6 separate regions of the Homo sapiens genome follow, and all the other regions are linked to region 3. The links are contacts of gene promoters, found by promoter capture Hi-C in blood cells and fetal thymus (Javierre and others, 2016). All regions are on one chromosome and are shown on one strand. Each heading gives the region's core, a stretch centred on a gene start or on the middle of the fragment in contact. The rest is flanking DNA. Distances are from core to core; before and after follow the strand shown.

Region 1 (3,448 bases), core at 812-3,311, 330 kb after region 3:
TACATCTTCTCTGGTTGAGGGGCTTGGTAACAGCAGGCAAAATGACGAACCCATCAGACCGTGTCTTGCCTGCCAACTCGATGGCCGAGAGCCGTGAAGGGGACTTTGGCTGCACAGTAATGGAACTGAGGAAGCTCATGGAGCTGCGTTCAAGGGATGCACTGACCCAGATTAATGTCCACTATGGAGGTGTACAGAATCTCTGCAGTAGACTGAAAACCTCCCCTGTGGAAGGTAAAGGCCATATCAGGGGTGGGGAGTTGGAGGAAGGTGGCTAGTGTTTCAAAATATTGTTTTCCCAGCTTCTAGAGAAGGCACATTTCTGGAGGCCCAGCTGGTATATTTTTGTCTGGTGGGAAAGGTATGGCATCTGAAGCACTGAAAGGAGGGCAGGCCATGAAGAACTGTATCTTTCCCAGAGATGATGTTTAGAAAGTGTGCTATTCTCTAAAGATTATTCTTTTCTCCTTTTTCTTTTCTTTCTTTCTTCTTCTTTTGTTTCTTTTTTTTTTTTTTTTTTTTTTGGTGAGACAGGGTCCTGCTCTTTTACCCAGGCTGGAGTGCAGTGGCGTGATCATGGCTCACTGCAGCCTCAACCTCCTGGGCTGAAGCCATCTTCCTACCTCAGTCTGCTGGGTAGCTAGGACCACAGGTGTGTGCCATCACACCCAGCTAGCTTTTTAGATTTTTTTGTAGAGTTGAGGTCTCAGTATCTTGCCTAGACTCATCTCAAACTCCTGGACTTAAGTGATTCTTCCACCTTGGCCTCCCAAAGTGTTGGGATTACAGGCACAGTGAGCCACTGCTCCTGACCCCTCTTTTCTCCTTTTTCTGTATCAGTGTCCAGAAAGGAGGATATTTATTTTTAAAATGTTTATGTTATAAATGTTGTTGTCAGTAAATAATCAAGTCTGTTCTTCTATATGTCTGATTATAAAATAATTTAATTCTTCCCTACACTGATCTTACAGTTTAATGAATGGAGGAAGGAAGGGTACAAAAAAGTGAATAAGTCCAGCTGCCCAATTGAGCACTTCTCTATTGTATACTGTTAGAAATGGGATGATAGGCCAAGCAGGTGGGTGGCTCACATCTCTAATCCCAGCATTTTGGCAGGCTGAGGTGAGAGGATCACTTGAGCCCAGGAGTTCCAGACCAGCCTGGGTGACATAATAACACCCCATCTCTATTTTTTTTTTTTTTTTTTTGGAGACAGAGTCTTGCTGTGTCACCCAGGCTGGAGTGCAGTGGAATGATCTTAGCTAACTGCAACCTCCGCCTCCCAGGTTCAAGCAATTCTCATGCCTCAGCCTCCTAGGCAGTTGGGACTACAGGTGTGTGCACCACCACGCCCAGCTAATTTTTTGTATTTTAGTAGAGATGGGATTTCACCCTGTGGGTCAGGCTGGTCTCGAACTCCTGACCTCAGGTGATCTGCCTGCCTTGGCCTCCCAAAGTGTTGGGATGAGGAGGCTTACAGGCATAAGCCACCACGCCCAGCCTCTATTTTAAATAAAAAGAAAAAAAAAAGGAAATGGGATGCTAAATCACAAGGTATATAACTGTACCCATCATATCTTTGGATCACTCACTGTTTTGTGTCAGGGAATTATAAGTGATTTTTTTTCAACTCTGCTGGATACACTTTTAATGTAGTTCTCCTTAATCTTTTTTGTTTGTTTTGTTTTTTGTTTTTTTGGTTTTTTTGTTTTGAGAAGGAGTCTCACTCTTGTTGCCCAGGCAGGCTGGAGTGCAATGGTGCAATCTTGGCTCACTGCAACCTCCACCTCCTGGATTCAAGCAATTATCCTGCTTCAGCCTCCTGAGTAGCTGGGGTTACAGGCATGTGGCTAATTTTGTATTTTTAGTAGAGATGGAGTTTCACCATTTTGACCACACTGGTCTCAAACTCCTGACCTCAGGTGATCCGCTCACCTCAACCTCCCAAAGTGCTGGGATTACAGGTATGAGCCACTGCGCCCGGCCTTAATCTCTTCTTAAAAGCTAAAAAAACTTAAAAGATAATGAAAAATTCAGCTTCAGGCTTTGGCCCAGCCCAGTTGCCCAGTGTGCCATGGTATTATGAAATTTTGCCTCATCAAAATGTAGAAAGAACAAAAGGAAACTTGCTTTTTCACTTTAGTCTGGTTTTAGCATCTCTGTAGCAGATTCTTACTTGGCCCTATACATCTGGCAGTTCATGGTTGAGTAGCATGAGATGGAGCAAAGATCTTGTCCATTAGGGGCTTTCAGTCTCATGTGGTCTCCTATTTCTGAATCTTCCTCAGAGGCCACAGCATATTTCTCACCAATTCTAAGAAGTTGTTACCCTTTGCCAGTGCTGTATTATAAGTTAGTGACTTGGAGCCTAGACTCTTTAGGATGAAAAAAGAGAAAGAGAGTTTTACATAGATATCTATACCTAGTTTATGTCTTATTTTCTTTACAACCTAAGGGAGCTTCCCTACCTGTTTTCTTTACTTCTAGAATTTGGTTTCCTATCTCATAGGCTTTGAGTTCAAATGATAGCTCCACCATTTACTAACTAAGTAGCCCTCTACAGTTTACTCAGCCTCCCTGAGTCTGTTTCTTCTTTGAAAATAATGTTAATAACACCTAGCCCATAGAGTTACTGAGATTAAATAATACATATACAGTGCTCATACTTATAATTAGGTGTTCAATAGATTAGTTTTCTCAGATTAAAACAGAGTCCATGCATCTGTAGATACTTGCCAGAACATGGGTGCCTATGGAGTGCAATGTTTTGTCCTATCTGGAGAGGTTACTGTGTGTGTAACTGCAACTACTGTCCATTTCATTTGCTCACTTCTTAATCACAAAAAAAAAAAAAACCCTGGGTAAGGTGGCAATATCTAATTGCTTTCATGTGGCTCAGTCTTTGCCTTCTAATGGTAGTCCTTAATCATACCCCTTTGGGCTCTGTCTACTTCTTGCCAGCTAGATTTCTTTATTCAGTCACTTTTACAGCCGTACTGACTGCTGAGGGTCTGTTCTTAATTATATCTTCACTGAGATTATGCAGTACTTTACAAACACCCATCAGAATTTAAACAGGATCTTTCTTTTTCCCTTCCTATGCTGTTCTTGATCCCTCTGGTCAGCTGTCTGTCTCACAAACAGGAACTCGGGAGTCCAAAGAAGCTGGAACCTAGAGAACTCCTGACAGCAGGATTCAGGCTTTCCTCCAATTTTCCAGATCCCTTCCCAGAGCTGCCACTGTTTACTTTCTGATTCCCAGAGAGCTTCCTTTCCCAAAGGCCAACATATATTCTACTTTCTGTCAACATTGGATATCAAATGTTATAGACATAGCTAATGCTCTTGGATCCTTTCCCAGTCCTGGTTTCAGCCCCTTCCAATGGCAAGTGCTTCCCTCGTTACAGCCCCTGGCCATGCCTGTAGCCTAGGACTCCTAACACTGGCA
Region 2 (3,517 bases), core at 955-3,454, 270 kb after region 3:
TGAACACAGGCTGTCTCTGCCCAGCTTAACCCACCTCTAACACAGTGGCCGCCTAGATGGCAGAGTAACATGGAACGCTTGGCATCCCTAGTAATCCTCATTATTGCCAGAATCAGAGCATGAAACCAGCAATACACAAAGAACAAAAACCCAACAAACAAAAGTTGAGCCACAAAGATCTCTGTGGTGACACTAACTAGGTGGTCCTCTGAGACCAGCTCCTCAAGCCCTCAGAGAAAGTGTCCTTTGATTTAATTCTGCATCCCACCCTTGCAGATTCAGACACCCTTTCTAATGATCTCTGTAAAGGCTGTTCCATCCAGTCCTCTCACAGGAATTCCAGGAAGTGGGAAAAATGAAATTGTTGCTTGTCAAGTGTAGAAGACCACCCACACTCAGCAAGGGGGTGAGCTGGAAGCCAGCCCTCCCATGGAGGACCCAGCAAGGTTCTTGCAGTGGAGAAATAGCCCAGCCTGCTGCTGCTATTGCTGCTGAAACAGCTGCTGATATTTGCTTCTCTCTCATATAAATATAGCAAGAATTATTCATCTTTATCTTTCTTGGACCCTCTTAGCTGAAGTCACCATTGTCTTCCCTGAGCAGACCCTCCCTGATTCCTGAAGCAACGCTCAATCTGAACTTGAGAATTAGTTGTTGTTTTTCGTTTTTGGTCTTGTTTTTGAGACTGAGTCTCAGTCTGTCGCCCATGCCGGAGTGCAGTGGCGCGATCTCCACTCACTGCAACTTTCGCCTCCTGGGTTCAAGCAATTCCCGCTTGAATGGGAGGCTTGAACTCAGCCTCCTGAGTAGCTGTGATTACAGGCGTATGCAACCATGCCCAGATAATTTTTTTGTATTTTTAGTAGAGACGGGGTTTTGCTGTGCTGGCCAGGCTGATCTCGAACTCCTGACCTCAAGTGATCTGCCCACTTTCATCTTCCAAAGTGCTGGGATTACAGGCGTGAGCCACCACGCCCAGCCAGAGAATTAGTTGTTTTGATTGTACATGAGAATGTCTTGGAGGGTAAACCCTGGCTATCTGTGTCTCCATCTAGCAGCCTTCTCTGATCTCCTGCCATCTTGACCTAAGCCAAGTCCAAGGACTTCTGCCTTGGTATCTCTGCCTAGCGTTCATGCCCCCAGTCCCTTAGCTGGAGCTCAGTGGGTCTTCCTGGATCCAGTTTCTTCCCCATTAGAACCCTTGCCCTGGGTTTTGTATAATAAGGATAGACAAAGGACATGGGGGCAGAAGTTACTCAGATAAATACATCTGTCTACCCTGCAGCCATCACCAGGCCTGCTCTGCAAGGAGGTAGAAAGAAAAGCATTAGAAATAATCGAAAAGTCCAACTGGAGTCTCACCAACTCTAAGAAGCCTTCTGCAAAGCTTCCAGCCCATCTTCAGCTTTCCTTCGCTAAACTTTCACTGGGTTTTTCACCTGGAACAAAGTTTTAGACTTCAGCATATACTTTATTCTGTTGTTATCTGCTTTATATATCTCCACAACCAGATTAGAGGCTTCTGGAAGGCAGGGACTATGTTACATATCACTATGTTCCATAACACTGCCTAGTAATGCATTGTGCCTGGATTATCCCTCCCACCATCTTTAGGCTTGCAGTCTACCCTACACACTACTGCCACAGCCAGCTTACTAAACACAGACCCAGTGAGGCCACTCAGGGCCCTCCATTGACTGAACTCAAACTACCTCCCCAGTCTTTCTCCTCTACTCTTTTTTCTTTTTTCTTTTTCTTTTTTTTTTTCTTTTTTTTTTTTTTTTGAGACAGACTATCACTCTGTCACCCAGACTGGAGTGCAGTGGTGCAATCTCGGCTCACCGCAAACTCTGCCTCCTGGGTTCAAACTATTCTTGTGCCTCAGCCTCCCAAGTAGCTGGGATTACAGGTGTGTACCACTACACCCAGCTAATTTTTTTACTAGAGATGGGGTTTTGCCATGTTGCCCAGGCCAGGCTTGAACTCCTGGCCTCAGGCAACCCACCCACCTCGTTCTCTATTCTTTCTACCTCCAGACCTTTGCTCATGTCCCACCCTAACCCCGCCTCCATCCAAAACAGTTTAAAGCTTGCTTTTCAAGATTTTTCAGGTACTTGCAAATATTATCTCCTTCCTAGAGCCTTCTAATATTCCCATCTGAGGCAATCACTCCCTAGCATTTCCTAGCATTTTATATTTCATCTTTTAATATGTACTACCTAGCACATAGTAAGCATTCAGTAAATACATTTAAAAGATTATAGCATCTTTGATTGTAGCTACTCATGCTATGAAAGCATCTTTTCCTTCTACTAAACTATAAGCTTATTACCTCTGTATACCTCATCTGGGCCCAGTAGATGTTGAAACAGTAGACATTCAATAAATGTATGCTAAATTGAATAGTAGGTGTTCAGAGATACTTAACTGAATGAATAAAATGCACAGAAATGACTGAATCTAAATGGTAGCTAGTAGCTCAAAGACTTTCTATATTACTTTCTACACTACATTTCTACATTACTTAGTACAAGTGACCAAAAAACCTAGTTTCATCTAGCGTAGGCATGCACAATGAGTCATGTAACTCATTTGTAGGAAAGGCAGGGGTACAGTGGGATATGAGGTACAACGAACTCCAGTGCTGCTGGCACTCACTCCTTAGCTTTCTCGTCTGCCTCTCTTGCATGCGAGCTGTATTCTTTTTTATTGCAGGCTTCTTCCATGGGGCAGGGAACTTGACCCCTGATACTTCCAGAGTATAAGATACTTGACCTCTGATACTTCCAGAGTATCTCTTCACAGTAGTCACAGCAGGGACCAAGCCTTGTTTTCTGTTTAATCGTAAGTGCAAAACTCTCAGGAAAGGATGTAATTGGCTCAGCTTGGGTCAGGTGGGGTTAGGACTGCTAATAAAATGTCAGTTTCAATTGTTGTTTTTTGTTTTGTTTTGTTTTGTTTTGAGATGGAGTCTCACTCTGTCACCCAAGCTGGAGTACAGTGGCACGATCTCAGCTCACTGCAACCTCAGCCTCTGGGGTTCAAGTGATTCTCGGGCCTCAGCCTCCTGAGTACCTGGAATTACAGGCATGCCCAGTGATTTTTTTTTGTATTTTTATTTATGTATTTATTTACTGATACAGAGTCTCACTCTGTCACCCAGGCTGGAGTACAGTGGTGCAATCTCAGCTCACTGCAACCTCCATCACCTGGTTTCAAGCGATTCTCCTGCCTCAGTCTCCCGAGTAGCTGGGACTACAGGCGCGCACCACCGTGCCAGCTAAGTTTTGTATTTTTGGTAGAGACGGGGTTTCACCATGTTGCCCAGGCTGGTCTTGAACTCCTGACCTCAAGTGATCCAACCACCTCGGCCTCTCAAAGTGCTGGGATTACAGGCATGAGCCACCATGCCTGGCCCAGTTTCCATCTTAACAGTGAGAAGAAAGGACGTCCCAAAGAACTGGGTTCGGGCATGGGGAAAATGGCTGCTGTTCTAGCCAAGGCAAAATGGTAGATA
Region 3 (3,227 bases), core at 605-3,104:
GCAGCTTGAGGTAGGACCCTGACATTCTCCTCTCCTTTCCCAAGCTACCTGCTCCCAGCGATGACACCTAGATGACCAGGCTCTGTGTCTAGGTCCCCACATTGCTGGAAACCTGTTGCTTTTGAACCTGTTGTGCTAATGAGATAGGAACAGGGCAGACTGAAGAGGAAATGTGGGTCTGATGTCATCTGAGAGGGAAACTAAAGGTATGGAAGGTAAGAGACTAGGGGTGGCCTGGGTACCCTACCCTGGTTACCTATAGCCAATGCATGACATACTCCTGTGAGCAGTGGGCATCTTCCTGAGTGTCACCCTTGGACAGAGAAACCTTAGAATCTTTCTTGGCCTGGAAGAGTCACATACAGCCCTCACATTGCTGTTGGGCCTACTGGGGTTGGCAACTGTAAACAGAAGAAAGAAAGGAGTATAAAAGCCAACATCATCAGATCCAGTGAACTGATGGGAAAGACCCCAACTATGACACTCAACAGAGTTACCTCCTGACCACCATCCATCCCAGACCTCTCTGTCCCCTCAAAACAGTTTCCTTGGGCCCACTTCATCCCATCAGTTCCTAGGTTGCAGAGGAGCAGGCACCCTGGCTCATCCACAGGCAGCCTCAGGCCTCAGACAAAGAGCCACAGTGTTTTGGAGAAGCTGACCCAACTGCCCACTGCCTGGGCAAGCTGGCTGGTTCCTGGCTCTGGCCAGGAGAGAAGACGAATGGAGCGGCCCACTGCCAACAGAGCATTTTTCCATGCACAGCCCTGGGCTGTTGCAGGACCAAGGTGGCTGTCTGGAGGGCTGGCACAGTGAGCCTCTGTCTCCGTTTCTCCTTCTTTCAGACTGGGCACCTTGGCAGACAAGAGCCACCTTCCCCTTCAGACTCAGCTTTCTAGGGGCTGTGCACCCTGCCCACTTCAGCCTCTTCTTAGAGCCATGGGTGCTGAAAGGGTTTGATGGGGAGCTTATGCCTCTCCTTACCCCATCCCATCTCTTAGCAATGTTGCTTCAGGGTTGCATAGTCTTACACTGTTTCCCATAATGCTAGAGGCCCTCCTGTGCTCAGAGTTTCTGTAAGGTCGAAAGTTTCCAGGACTGCCACACTATCAGCTGGGGGAAGTTTACTCAGGAGCTACTGCTGTTCTTTCATTTCTCCACTCTAGAGAAAGATCTCTCCCTCCTATCAGTGGAGAAGGTCAAGCCAGAGGCCATCCCCTCACCTGGATTGCATCCCCACCCCAATCCACAGCTCCCTGGACATGGCCAGTTCTCAATGCTTCTTTTTATTCTCTCCTTTCCACTCCAAACACACACACACACACACACACACACACATTCTACACAAAAGTTTCCCCCTCTCCCATAATAGCATTTATGTACCAAACCCCTCTATAAGAGAGATTGCAGGGACATCCAGGTCTTGGAATACCCTTCAAAATGCCCACACTCCCAGCATGATGGGATTTATGAGTAGCAGGGAAGAAGCTTCCCTAGACAGAGGGTCCTTCACTTTTTCATGCCTGAGAATTGGAGGTCCCCTCAGCACCCATAAAGGAACTGTAAGAGAAAGGTACAGGGCTGGAACCCCTCCCTTATACACCCTCTCTGCCACTCTCCAGCATCCCTGGGGTCATGGCCCAGATGTGGAGAAGGAGGAATGAACCCTCCCTGCCTCCCCATCTCCCCTATCCCCTACCACTTTTCCTTTATTTCTTTTAAGGAACTGCTAGGGACAAACCCGAAGTAAAACGACTATACTTACCTCAAGTTGAACTTTTCAGAGAGTGACCACGTCCCTCTGTCTGGCCTCCTTGGGTTGGAGAACGTGTGAGAGAGGAAGAGAGAGAGGAGTGAAAGAGTCTACTGAGAGTGTGCGTGCCTGTGCCAGACCAGGGTCCCGCCCCAAATTCCTAATCAAATATTGTGAAAAGGGGCTGAGGAACCCGGATCCTGGTTTTTTTCAGCTCTGCTGCAGGGGCGGAGTTCACGCTCAACCACGCAAATCCTTCGGTCCGCCTGACGCTATAAAAACCACCTTTTTTCCACTCACTTATCTTCCCTGAAACATTGGCAGCCCTGGGTCCCTTTCTGCTGAATGAGTTAGTGGCGCCCTAGAAGTTATTTGTACAGTCTCTTATGAAGCGCCTGGATTTCTCATTAAAGCCACAAAGGCAGATGCAGGGATGGGGAGGGCCAGGGTTTGGTAAGAGACATCTTAACTCCTTCAGCAACCCACATGTCCCTCCAGAGAGCGAGAACTCGCGCTTCTCAGCTCCCCCTATAGACAGGTCATCAGGCTAGTGGATAAGGGAGCATGAATGACAAGGGACAGCCGGCTCTGGTTCCAGTTCTATCCCTAAGCAGTGTAGACTTTTCTAGGCTACAGGTCCTGCCCACCTCCACCACTGGAACAAAAGGAAAGGCAGGGACTCCAGCATTTGCTGATCACTGCTTATGCACTAGCATCATCCACTTCCACTTAATGCTCACAACAAATTCAGAGTTAATAACACTTACCTTGCTGGGTTGTAGCAAGGACTGTATCAGGTGATGTGTGGGAGGCTCCTGACCTGGCACATAGCTGAGGTTCACTGTGTCCTACCCATTTCACAGCCATAGAATTCCTCAGCCAGGGAAAGACAAGATCAGAAAGCTGGGCAGGAGCTGTACCATGAAAGGACTTTTGGGCGATGGAAGTGATTTGGTTTTTATTCTAAATGTTTTTGTTGTTGTTGTTGTTGTTTGTTTGTTTGAGAAGGAGTCTCAGCTGGGCGTGGTGGCTCATGCCTGTAATCCCAGCACTTTGGGAGGCCGAGGCAGGAGGATCATGAGGTCAGGAGATCGAAAAGGAGTCTCGCTGTGTCGCCCAGGCTGGAGTGCAGTGGCACAATCTCTGCTTTCTGCAACCTCCGCCTCCCAGGTTCAAGCCGTTCTCCTGCCTCAGCCTCCTGGGTAGCTGGGACTACAGGCACACGCCACCACGCCCAGCTAATTTTTTGTATTTTTAGTAGAGACAGGGTTTCATCATATTGGTCAGGCTGGTCTTGAACTCCTAAACACAGGTGATCCACCCACCTCAGTGCCCCAAAGTGCTGGGATTACAGGCGTGCGTCATCCGGTCCGGCCTATTCTAAATGTTTAAAAAAAAAAACATGTTTCAAGCAGGAGAAGCCATGGGATCTGATTTGCATGGGATCTAATTTACATTTTAAAAGCATGTAGGA
Region 4 (3,663 bases), core at 1,155-3,654, 400 kb after region 3:
TGGCATGTCCTTCACCAACAAATAATTGTGAAGCTTTGTTGTAAATAATACATGTAAACATGTTACCATTTCTGTGCAGGATCATTAACATCCAGTTACCTCCACCATGAACCTAAGCCATGAGAGGTACTGACCTATTAGATTCATAGACAGAAAGCTTTCAGCTTGAAAGGTAGCAGCTTCTGGGTTCTGGGCTTGCCTATGTCCTGATGTACAACCAATCATAAACAAGTCTTTACTTCTCTGACTCTTTTCAAATAATACTTTCCTGGCCCAGCATCATCTCCCTGTCCTCAGAAGACATGCACAAAACAGAGATCAGTCTCTTTAGAATGGCCTCCCGCTGCCTTCTAAAAGGCTGGTGGCAAAACAAGAATGCTAGCTCGGAAGGCAGTGGTTCATGCCTGTAATCCCAGCACTTTGGGAGGCTGAGGTGGGCGGATCACCTGAGGTCAGAAGTTCAAGACCAGTCTGGCCAACATGGTGAAACCCTGTCTCTACTAAAAATACAAAAATTAGCTGAGCGTGGTGGTGTGCACCTGTAATACCAGCTACCCGGGAGGCTGAAGCAGAAGAATCCCTTGAACCCAGGAGGCGGAGGTTGTAGTGAGCCAAGATCACGCCACTGCACTCCAGCCTTCCAACATAGGTGACAGAGCAAGGCTCCATCTCAAAAAAAAAAAAAAAAAAGAATTGAAATAATCTACATATTTGGATAGCCAGATTACAATCAGAAATTTAACTTCTGCTCATGAACTCTACGCAAAGGGGAAATAATAGAACTGTCTGAGTGGCTAGTGCCATTACACTCACAGGGCATATATCTGTCCCTACTCCTTTTTTTGTTTTTGAGACAGGGTCTTGCTCTGTCACCCAGGCTGGAGAGCAGTGGCATGACCAAGGCTTACTGCAGCCTTAGACTCGGCTCAAGTTATCCTTCCATCTTAGCCTTCCAAGTAGCTGAGACTACAGGCATGCACCACCATGCCTGTAATTTTTTTTAAGAGATGGAGTCTTACTATGTTGTTCAAGCTGGAGTCAATCACCTGGCCCCAAACTATCCTCCCACCTCAGCCTCCCAAATGTTGGGATTACAGGCATGAGCCACCATGCCTGGCCTGTCTCTACTTTAGAATAGAACTGGGCCCTGTGTTCAAGCTTAAGCATCACTTGATTTCTCTGGTGTCTCCTATAACAGAGGACATATAGACCATCTCCTTTTAGCACATTCTTTTTCCAAACACAGCACAATTGATTTAAGCTTTCTTGCTATGCTAGACCCAGGAAGACTGCATTGAAAGACTGATTTGTGTTTTATAACTCCAGATCTTCATGTCTTCACCTATTTAAAGCAAGTATATATGATAACTCATTTGAAAGAGGGAGTAAGGCTGGGAAGAGCTGGACTGGTACCTACAGATTGCCTTTAACCATGCTTAAGAGAAGAACAAATATATCCATGATCATCCAAAACCCTTTATTTAAGTCAAGAATTCCTGCATCTGACCAGCCTGGCCAACATGGTGAAACCTCATCTCTACTAAACTTACAAAAATTAGCTGGGCATGGTGGCTCATGCCTGTAATCCCAGCTTCTCTGAAGGCTGAGGTGAGAGGATCACTTGAACCCAGGAGGCGGAGGTTGCAGTGAGCTGAGATTGCACAACTGCACTCCAGCCTGGGTTACAAAGATAGATCCTGTCTCAATAAATAAATAAATAAATAAATAATAAAAATAAAAATAAAAAATTCCTGCTGGGCGCAGTGGCTCATGCCTGTAATCCCAGCACTTTGGGAGGCCAAGGCAGGCAGATTGCCTGAGCTCAGGAGTTCAAAACCAGCCTGGGCAACATGGCAATACCCTGTATCTACTAAAAATACAAAAACTTAGCCAGTCGTGGTGACAGGCACCTGTAATCCCAACTACTCAGGAGGCTGAGGCAGCAGAATCACTTGAACGTGAGAGGTGGAGGTTGCAGTGAGCCGAGATCATGCCACTGCACTCCAGCCTGGGCAACACAGCAAGACTCTCTTTCCGAAAAAAAAAAAAAAAGAGAGAATTCCTACATCTTTCCTATCAAACCTTTTGAATTGAGCTGCTGCTGCTGACCGGGTAGGAAAGGAAGGCGTTTAAATGTTTCTCTGCTTACTCTTTGATCGAGGAGCTAAAATGGCAAAATTAGAGTAAGATTCTGATGTGCAGCTGATTGGAAGGCAGGAGACACATGCCCTGACCTCAACTCTGCTTCTTGACCAGCTTGATTTCCCATGTGTACAAGGAGATCATTAAAGTACATCATTTTCAAATTACATTTTGAAGATCAGAAAGGAACTCCTGAGAGATAATTTAGGGTCGACAGGCGTTCAACAAAAATAGCACATTTTTAAAACGTTTTTGGGCCAGGCACGGTGGCTCACACCTGTAATCCTAGTTCTTTGGGAGGCCGAGGCGGGTACATCACTTGAGGTCAGGAGTTCGAGACCAGCCTGGCCAACATGGTGAAACCCTGTTTCTACTAAAAAAAAAAATTAGCCAGGCGTGGTGGCACATGCCTATAGTCTCAGGTACTTGGGAGGCTGAGGCTGGAGGATTGCTTGAACCCAGGAGGCAGAGATTGCAGTGAGCTGAGATTGCATCACTGCACCCCAGACTGGGAGACAGAGTGAGACTCCATCTCAAAAAAAAAAGAAAAAGAAAAAGAAAAAATGTTATTGGCTTCCAGGTCAGCTATAGCTTTTAAAAAATGACTTTAAAACACTGACCAGCTGGGTGCAATGGCTCAGGCCTGTAATCCCAGCACTTTGAGAGGTCAAAGCAGGAAGATGGATTTAGGCCAGAAGTTCAAGACCAGCCTAGGCAACATAGTGAAACCTCATCTCTATTAAAAATTTTGGCCAGGCATGGTGGCTCACGCCTGTAATCCCAGCACTTTGGGAGGCCGAAGTGGGCAGATCACCTGAGGTCAGGAGTTCAAGACCAGCCTGGCCAACATAGCGAAACCACGTCTCTACTAAAAATACAAAAATTAGCTGGGCATGGTGGTGGACGCCTGTAATCCCAGCTACTCAGGAGGCTGAGCAAGAGAATTGCTTGAACCCGAAAGGGGTTGTAGTGAGCCAAGATTGTGCCACTGAACTCCAGCCTGGGTGACAAAGCAAGACTCCATCTCAAAAAAAAAAATTAATTTTTAAAAATTAGCCAAGCATGGTGGTGCACACCTATAGTTCCAGCTACTCAGAAGGCTGAGGTGGAAGGATCACTTGAACCCAGGAGGTTGAGGCAGCAGTGAGTTGTGATGAGGCCACTCCAGCTGGAGTGACAGAACAAGATCCCATTTCAGAAAAACAAAAACAAAAAACACTAACCTAGTTCATCCTTAAAGTCCCTGCCAACTCTGAAATGCTATGATTGTAATTAACAAAACAAACAGTCCAAAGTTGAGTGGTAATATAACAAATTGTGTTCAAGCAAACAAGCAAGCCTAACTTGGATCCTGTCTCAATTATCTGCCACTACCATTATCAATGCATGCACAGGTAAAATTCAGCAAAGCTTAATGACTGTAGTCTAGCCTGCTGAGACTATTATCTAGCTGATTCTGCAGTGGAATGATAACCTTCTGCGTTGAAATTTATGATGGAAAGAGCAGTTGTTTGGGAATGC
Region 5 (3,225 bases), core at 565-3,064, 380 kb after region 3:
CATAGCTTTAGGTATACTACCTTTCCGCATTGTTGGAGCATGAGGCAGTTGGGCCAAAATGGCATTAAAGCCTAAAGTGAGGCATGTTCAAGATGCCACAGTGACCAAATTCACGCCATCCAGGATGCACCTGACTCTGGAAGCTGATGAGGCTAATGATGCTAACGTGTATCCTGGATCCCTGAGGTCCGCTCCCAACATCAGCCCTTCAGCCTCAGCTGGGTTCTAACAAAACCCCCTGCCACCTCCACGTTGATCTTTGTTGTCATTCTCATCGCAGTGCTTTGGTATGGGAGGTGTTAGAAAACTTAGAGACTAGAATTGTGGAGGTTGGGACCTTGTAACTCCAATAAGCACTGAAGAAGGTGTCTCTACAGTCCCTTCTTCCATGGAGCTGGAACCCCCGCACCCACCCCAAGTGTAAACCCTCTCCTCCTGCAGGTTCAAGCTCCTCAGTCCCAGGGAACTAAAACTGAATAATGTGAGGAAGCAGTGATGTTTCTGCTCAAACTGTGATCTGGATCCAGAAACTAGCCCTAAACAGCTCATGGCTTCTCAGGAAGCTTTATAAAAGGACTGTCTCACTCACATTCTGCCTACTTTCCCATCTTCCCTCCTGGGAAAATGAAGTCCAGTTAATGGAATCAGCACCTTTCCTTCATTCCTGGTAGATTAACCCTTGGCATTAAGCAGATAGATATTTCTAAGATTATTCTACCAGATTCATGAAGGCTAAAGGGAATTCCTTTTGATTTTGTCCTTGTTACTTAGGGGTCAGGGATAAGGATGGTAGAGTTGATTGAGGCCCTAGATCAGGACCATTGTCAGAAAATGAATGGCATGGCCGGGCGCGGTGGCTCACACCTTAATCCCAGCACTTTGGGAGGCTGAGGAAGGCAAATCACAAGGTCAGGAGTTCGAGACCAGCCTGGCCAGCATGGTGAAACTCTGTCTCTACTAAAAATAAAAAAATTAGCTGGGCATGGTGGCAGGTACGTGTAGTCCCTGCTACTCAGGAGGCTGAGGCAGGAGAATGGCTTGAACCCAGCAGATGGAGGTTGCAGTGAGCCAAGATCGTGCCATTGCACTCCAGCCTGGGTGACAGAGCGAGACTCTGTCTCAAAAAAAAAAAAAAAAAAAAAGGAAGGAGGGAGGAAGGAAGGAAGGAAGCTGGGCACAGTGGCTCACGCCTGTAATCCCAGCACTTTGGGAGGCCAAGACCGGCGGATCACGAGGTCAGGAGATTGAGACCATCCTGGCTAACACAGTGAAACCCTGTCACTACTTAAAATATAAAAAATTAGCCAGCCTGGTGGCGGGTGCCTGTAGTCCCAGCTACTCAGGAGGCTGAGGCAGGAGAATGGCGTGAACCCGGGAGGCGGAGCTTGCAGTGAGCCGAGATCGCACCTTGCACTCCAGCCTGGGTGTCAAAAAAAAAAAAAAAAAAAGGAAGGAAGGAAGAAAATGAATGGCATTAATTGCCTCTGTCTCTGAGGAACAGGGCACTGAAAACCAGAGGCTACTTGTGTAAGCCTCGACCTGTAGCTGTTTCAACCACCACCAACCAAAACCTCTTCCTCCCCCTCCCTCAGTCTAATTGCCGAGTTACTGTCAGCATTTCTGCCAGACATTTCAGATCTCTAATGCATTAATGCACTTAGTAGCATTCTCGATAGTGGGCTTGGCCACTGGGTTCTTGAGCTCCATTCTCAGGGAGCCTACCTACTTCAGCCCAGGGAAGGGATAGCTCAGACAAGATACCCAGAGGAGGATGAGCCCAGCAACTCATGGCCCAGGGGTCTTTCCATCATGGCCATTTGTATATTGGCTACTAAATGGCCCCTGTTTTTTATTTAAACACATGAGTTATTTTCCTGGAAAATCCGCAAAAATACGTAGTCGGTTTAATTGATTTAGAGGTTCCTGAGCCTTCAAATTCAGTAATACATAATTTGCCTTCAGAATCTTCAATTGTTTGCCTTATTTTTAAGAGTACAGGTAAAAAGGGGCCTGTAGGTGGAGGTTGCAGTGAACCGAGAGTGTGCCACTGCACTCCAGCCTGGGCGACAGATTGAGATTCCATCTCAAAAAAAAAAAAAAAGTACAGGTAAAAACAACGAACAATCGCTGTCTAGCTGTTAGGAGTGATGGAGTAGGGAAAAGTCCCTTTACATTTTAAATACTCTTGGCCCCCTCTAAACCTCAAATGCCCACTGTGGATTCAAAGGGAAGAAAAAACTAGATTCTGGCTGGGCGTTGGGACTCCATGGCAAATTGTTCCCTAAGTGAAGTATGATATGCAATTAACGTTTTTCTCCTTCTCCTCACCATTGCTTTTTGTGGGAGGGAAGCTCTCTCTTGCTCTCTCCTGTCCCCTTTTCCCATCTACTTCCATTCCTGCTTCCCCAACCTTCCATGACCCTCCCTTCCTCTTTCTTCACCTCTCTCGGACTGACTGTGGAGCAAAGCTGTCTCACTCTCTGATTCTTTGCAGATCGACGTAATTAACACATTCCAGACGGGAGCCTCTTTTAAGGGAGTCCTAAGGCGACAGAACATGGGTCAACACCTTGATGTAAAACTTGTTCCTAGTTCATCCTATGTAGCAGTTGCACCAGTCAAATCTTCCCCCACCACTTCTGTTCCTGCTGTTTCATCTCCTCCTATGGGCAGTGAGTGATAGTCTATTATGATGCATGATTTGCTAAAATGACCACAAGAGAGCACGTGGCATCCACTTTAACCAACCATGGTTATCTTTTCCTTTTGGTTTTTCCCTTTGATATTTTGACTTAAGGGAAGAAAAAGACAAAAATCCTACTCTAAAACCAGACTGTGTGCCCTTGTATTTTATTTTTGTAATGTAGAAAAGCTATTAAACCTTAACTGTTTTAAAGACAATAATTCTGTTTTCTGATTGTTCCTCTGCATTGCTCATTTCTTCCTTTTCTTGAGTTTTGTTTTGTTTTGCTTTGCCTTTTTTGTTTGTCTGTTTGTTGCTTTGCTGGGATATGTTGTTGTTCCTCTCTTCTCCTCCTGCTCCTTTGAGTCTGAACTCTACCTCCTAAGCTTAGATGTGAGGTTAGGCCAGAGGAAAACCCAAGAGCTTTCTTTACATGGGGGCAAAGTTTGGGATCTTTTGAGGAAAGGTAGGAAGGGAGCTAATGTGCCCATGGGTGTGTTTTGACTAGTGGACCTGTCATAATTGAGCCAGTATTAAACTTG
Region 6 (3,671 bases), core at 930-3,429, 440 kb after region 3:
GGCCTCTAAGTGCTGATGACCATTAAAAGATATTCAAGATATATTGTAAAGTGAAAAAAGCAAATTGCAAAACGGTATGTATAGTTTTAGCCTGTTCATATTTTCATTCATTCTAAGATGTACATCCTTTCCTAGCCTGTCACCTAGGCTGGAGTGCAATGGCGTGATCTTGGCTCACTGCAACCTCCACCTCCCAGGATCAAGCAATTCTCTTGCCTCAGCCTCCAAGTAGCTGGGATTACAGATGCGTGCCACTGTGCTGGGCTAATTTTTGTATTTTTAGTAGAGGCAGGATTTCACCATGTTGGCCAGGCTAGTCTCGAACTCCTGACCTTGTGGTTCGCCCGCCACAACCTCCCAAAGTGCTGGGATTAGAGGTGTGAGCCACCCTGCCCGGCCGGCCTGTCAGTTTAATTGGCAGTTGTTGGTTTTTTTCTTCCACTTAGAGGCTTGTAAAATAAAAGTGTATCTTACAATCAATGATACTTTAGGTTTACTGAAATATAACTATAAACTCTATATAGCACACTAGTCAGGCCAGGACTGCATCTTGGAGAGTCCTAGGTTGGAAAACCCTTAAGCTATGTGGAGAGCCCTCTGGTAAATTTTAAAAACCCTAGGTGTCGTGGCACAGACAGAAATTGGTTACCAGTAAGAGTCACACAGACCAAAAAAATGAAGACCAAAACAAAAGAAAAAGAAAAAGAAAGAAAAAAAGAAATTGGCTACCAGGAACTTGCTTATTAGGTCTGTTGACATGGCAATGCCAGAGCACTGTCACGTAAGGCAGAGATTGGAGCTAAGATTCTAAAGTTGTGGTTCTTACTTTGAAAGGAGATAAAAGCCCAGATATGAGGAGGCTCAGGACCCCTCTGCTCTGATAAATTCCTAGTCTTGGGCTGCCTGGGACTCGCACATCACCAACCCGGCAGCTGGAAGAACAAGCACACGAGGAAATAAAAGGTGCCTGAAGTCCCATCTGCTTTATCATCAAGTGTTTCCTTTCTTAGTAGCACAACTATATCCTTTACCCAAGTTAGGTAAAATGTTGCCACCTAATTAGAGTTCTGCTGAGCCACTACCCCAGGGGGACCTTGGGCTCCTATTATATGTGTAATATATTTAAGTATATTTTCAGTGTAAAAGCCAGAAAGGATATATGGTAAGTTAATGAGAGCTATTTCTCAAGAATGAGATTAATAGAGATTTTAACTTTCTACTCTCTATATTTCTGTATTGTTTCTAAAAAAACTTACGTGTATTAAGTTTTTTACTTTTTTTTTTTTTTTTTTTTTTTGAGATGGAGTCTTACTCTGTCGCCAGGTTGGAGTGCAGTGGTGCGATGTCAGCTCAATGCAACCTCTGCCTCCCAGATTCAAGCGATTCTCCTGCCTCAGCCTCTCGAGTAGTTGGGACTACAGGCGCGTGCCACCACGCCTAGCTAATTTTTGTATTTTTGGTAAAGATGAGGTTTCACCATGTTGACCAGGATGGTCTCGATCTCTTGACCTTGTGATCCGCCTGCCGAGGCCTCCCAAAGTGCTGGAATTACAGTCGTGAGCCACCGCACCGGCCACGTGTATTACTTTTATAACCGGGGGAAAAAGTAAAAACATTCAAAAGGGAAAATAAGGGACAATGTTAATAATGAAGCAGGGATGAGACTGCTGATTGCGACCTCCAACTAACTCTCCTGAATTTTGTCACGAGCATGAATTACTTTTCCAATACACAAATTTGCTTTAAGAAATCAAAGAAACACCCCCCCAAAGCCCAATCTCACTTCTTCAAGTAAAAAATAAACTAACAAATCATTCTACATTGCATGCTTAGGAAAAGTACAGTTTATTTCTAAATTAAATGTATACATGGTTTGGGAGATTTACTCATTAAGCAAACACTTTGGTAAGAATAAATTGAGCGCTTACTGAATGGCAGTCTCAGTTCCTGCGGCCCTCCCGCTTATTACCTCATTTGATTTAAAAACAAAAACAAAACGTTATGAAAGCCGGCTTCGAGGCATTCCTCTGAAGGGAAGGGACTCCCCGACCCAGCGCCTCCCCCGTCACGTGACCCTGTGACCCGGAGCAGCCATCTTAGGCATCGCCTCATAGAGGAACTACATCTTCCAGAATCCTCGCGCCCTGCGTCGTGCTGGCACTTTTACCGGCCGGGCCTTAGAGCGGAGCCTGTAGCCAGGCGCCATCTTTGACGCTGGCAGTCTTGGTTTTCTGCTAGTGCTGCTGCTGCTGGGAGGACGACGGACGGCAGCGGCCAAGCAAGAAGAAAGACGTGGCAGCAAGCGGGAGTCGGGGATAGTGTCATCGGTTCGGTAAAGTTTCTGTTCTCTGGTAACTAGACCCGTTTTTTTGATTCCCGGGTGGCTTGGGGCCGGGGAGGTGGGGGAGAGGGCGAGGGGAGTGGCAGCGGCCTCCCCTCGCCCCTGGGTCGCGGCCTATCCCGGGAAGTCAGAGCGGATCCTTCAGCTTCGCCGTAACGACCCCTCCCCCCCACCTCCCGGTCGCGGCCCTCGCCGGGGCTGGCTGGGAGCCCCAGGCTCCCGCTCACTTTTCCCATCCTCCCCACCCCCACCCCGTTCACCCCACCCCCACGGCGCCTGCTCCTTTCCCAGCCAACCTTCCTCCCCTCCCCCACATCCGGTGTTCGCTAATCTCGAGGAGCCCGGAGCAGCCCCGAAAACCGACTGTTCCCCCGAATCCCGAAGAGAGAACTGACACTAGATTGCTTTCTTCGGGGCAACAGTTTCTCTAGTTGAGCGGACCCTCACTGCCTAAATCAATCAGACTGAGTGCCGGGCGCTGAATTTACCTACTCTCATTCCTCTCCAGGGTCCCGGTACTTTGGAGCTTGTCTCAAACTCCACATACAGAAAGCCACCGACCTTATTCCGGTATCCTACACCCATTCCCCACTCTCATTACACTCCCACCCCTGGCCCTCAGCGTCGGAGTCAAGAGCAACAGGGACACTTCCGTTCTCCTTGTAGGACTGGTGAAACCGTAATGAAGAACACCCCTAAACTCCCATAATCGGTGCGGATTCCTATGGGGAAGGCCTATATTGTTGACATCTTCCAGGCCTTGGTTCTGGACCTTGAGAAAGAGGCTGTGGAACTAGAGATAGCGATGCTTTTTAGGGTAAATGTATGTAGGTATTGGGGGAAGGGGAGGGATCAATCGAAAAATGGAAGTGGTTTAAAGTTCATATTTCACTTTTTGCTATCTCTATAGCGTACAACTTGTGAGTTACTTACAGGCTGTAAAAGCTTCTCAAGTCTAAAAATATCTGAAAACTAAACTTGAATTAACTCTTAATACAAACAGTACTTTGAAAATGCAGCATTTAACCTTGTTTTAAAATTTTTTTCTCAAAGCATTTTTTTCCAGCCACTCACATTTTAAAAGGTTGTATTACTTTTAGTTAGAACTGAAAGGGCTCAACTAGCATTTGCTGTGACCAGTATGCGGAGTCTGTGTTGGCTTTCCAGAATTGACTTTTTGGGTTGTATTGGCAAATCACAGTCCTAAATGATGAATGTTGAATGATGCACTATGTTTTTGTTTAAATGAGATTTCCTGAAAATAGTTAATTTCAGAATTAAGGGAAATTGATGTCGCTATCATGAGGCATCATAAAAATATGTATTTTAC

Evidence for each region. Contacts are between HindIII fragments. The CHiCAGO score rates a contact against its expected background, and 5 or more counts as called.
Region 1: a fragment that was not itself captured here is called in contact with the fragment with the promoter of FMOD in region 3 in 5 of 17 cell types (M1 macrophages, M2 macrophages, naive B cells and 2 more); the score reaches 9.5 in M1 macrophages.
Region 2: a fragment that was not itself captured here is called in contact with the fragment with the promoter of FMOD in region 3 in 3 of 17 cell types (M1 macrophages, naive B cells and M2 macrophages); the score reaches 7.7 in M1 macrophages.
Region 4: a contact is called between a fragment that was not itself captured here and the fragment with the promoter of FMOD in region 3, in 3 of 17 cell types (M1 macrophages, M2 macrophages and M0 macrophages). The highest score is 7.3, in M1 macrophages.
Region 5: a fragment that was not itself captured here is called in contact with the fragment with the promoter of FMOD in region 3 in 4 of 17 cell types (M2 macrophages, M1 macrophages, naive B cells and 1 more); the score reaches 7.9 in M2 macrophages.
Region 6: the fragment with the promoter of ZBED6 here is called in contact with the fragment with the promoter of FMOD in region 3 in 15 of 17 cell types (M2 macrophages, M1 macrophages, total B cells and 12 more); the score reaches 19.7 in M2 macrophages.

The regions. Positions count from the first base shown.
Region 1 is chr1:203,683,165-203,686,612 of GRCh38, forward strand. It overlaps ATP2B4 (ATPase plasma membrane Ca2+ transporting 4), which reads left to right. Exons shown (of 21, transcript NM_001684.5): 2 at 1-234. The coding sequence starts at 42. Among named protein-coding and RNA genes, the nearest start is that of SNORA77, 45 kb to the right of the region's middle. The HindIII fragment of the contact is 7,908 bases long and covers 1-3,448 here.
Region 2 is chr1:203,619,184-203,622,700 of GRCh38, forward strand. No RefSeq gene overlaps it. Among named protein-coding and RNA genes, the nearest start is that of ATP2B4, 5.9 kb to the right of the region's middle. The HindIII fragment of the contact is 236 bases long and covers 2,087-2,322 here.
Region 3 is chr1:203,349,268-203,352,494 of GRCh38, forward strand. FMOD (fibromodulin) reads right to left here and starts at 1,855. Exons shown (of 3, transcript NM_002023.5): 1 at 1,766-1,855. The HindIII fragment of the contact is 3,247 bases long and covers 1,487-3,227 here.
Region 4 is chr1:203,747,331-203,750,993 of GRCh38, forward strand. No RefSeq gene overlaps it. Among named protein-coding and RNA genes, the nearest start is that of LAX1, 16 kb to the right of the region's middle. The HindIII fragment of the contact is 2,291 bases long and covers 1,260-3,550 here.
Region 5 is chr1:203,730,729-203,733,953 of GRCh38, forward strand. All of the region lies in intron 20 of ATP2B4 (ATPase plasma membrane Ca2+ transporting 4), which reads left to right. It overlaps LINC00260 (long intergenic non-protein coding RNA 260), which reads left to right. Exons shown (of 1, transcript NR_046213.1): 1 at 1-1,125. Among named protein-coding and RNA genes, the nearest start is that of LINC00260, 1.8 kb to the left of the region's middle. The HindIII fragment of the contact is 2,506 bases long and covers 562-3,067 here.
Region 6 is chr1:203,793,444-203,797,114 of GRCh38, forward strand. It overlaps ZBED6 (zinc finger BED-type containing 6), which reads left to right and starts at 2,180. Exons shown (of 17, transcript NM_001395895.1): 1 at 2,180-3,671. ZC3H11A (zinc finger CCCH-type containing 11A) reads left to right here and starts at 2,180. Exons shown (of 18, transcript NM_001376342.1): 1 at 2,180-2,351. RefSeq lists an enhancer at 1,881-2,300. The HindIII fragment of the contact is 5,182 bases long and covers 1-3,284 here.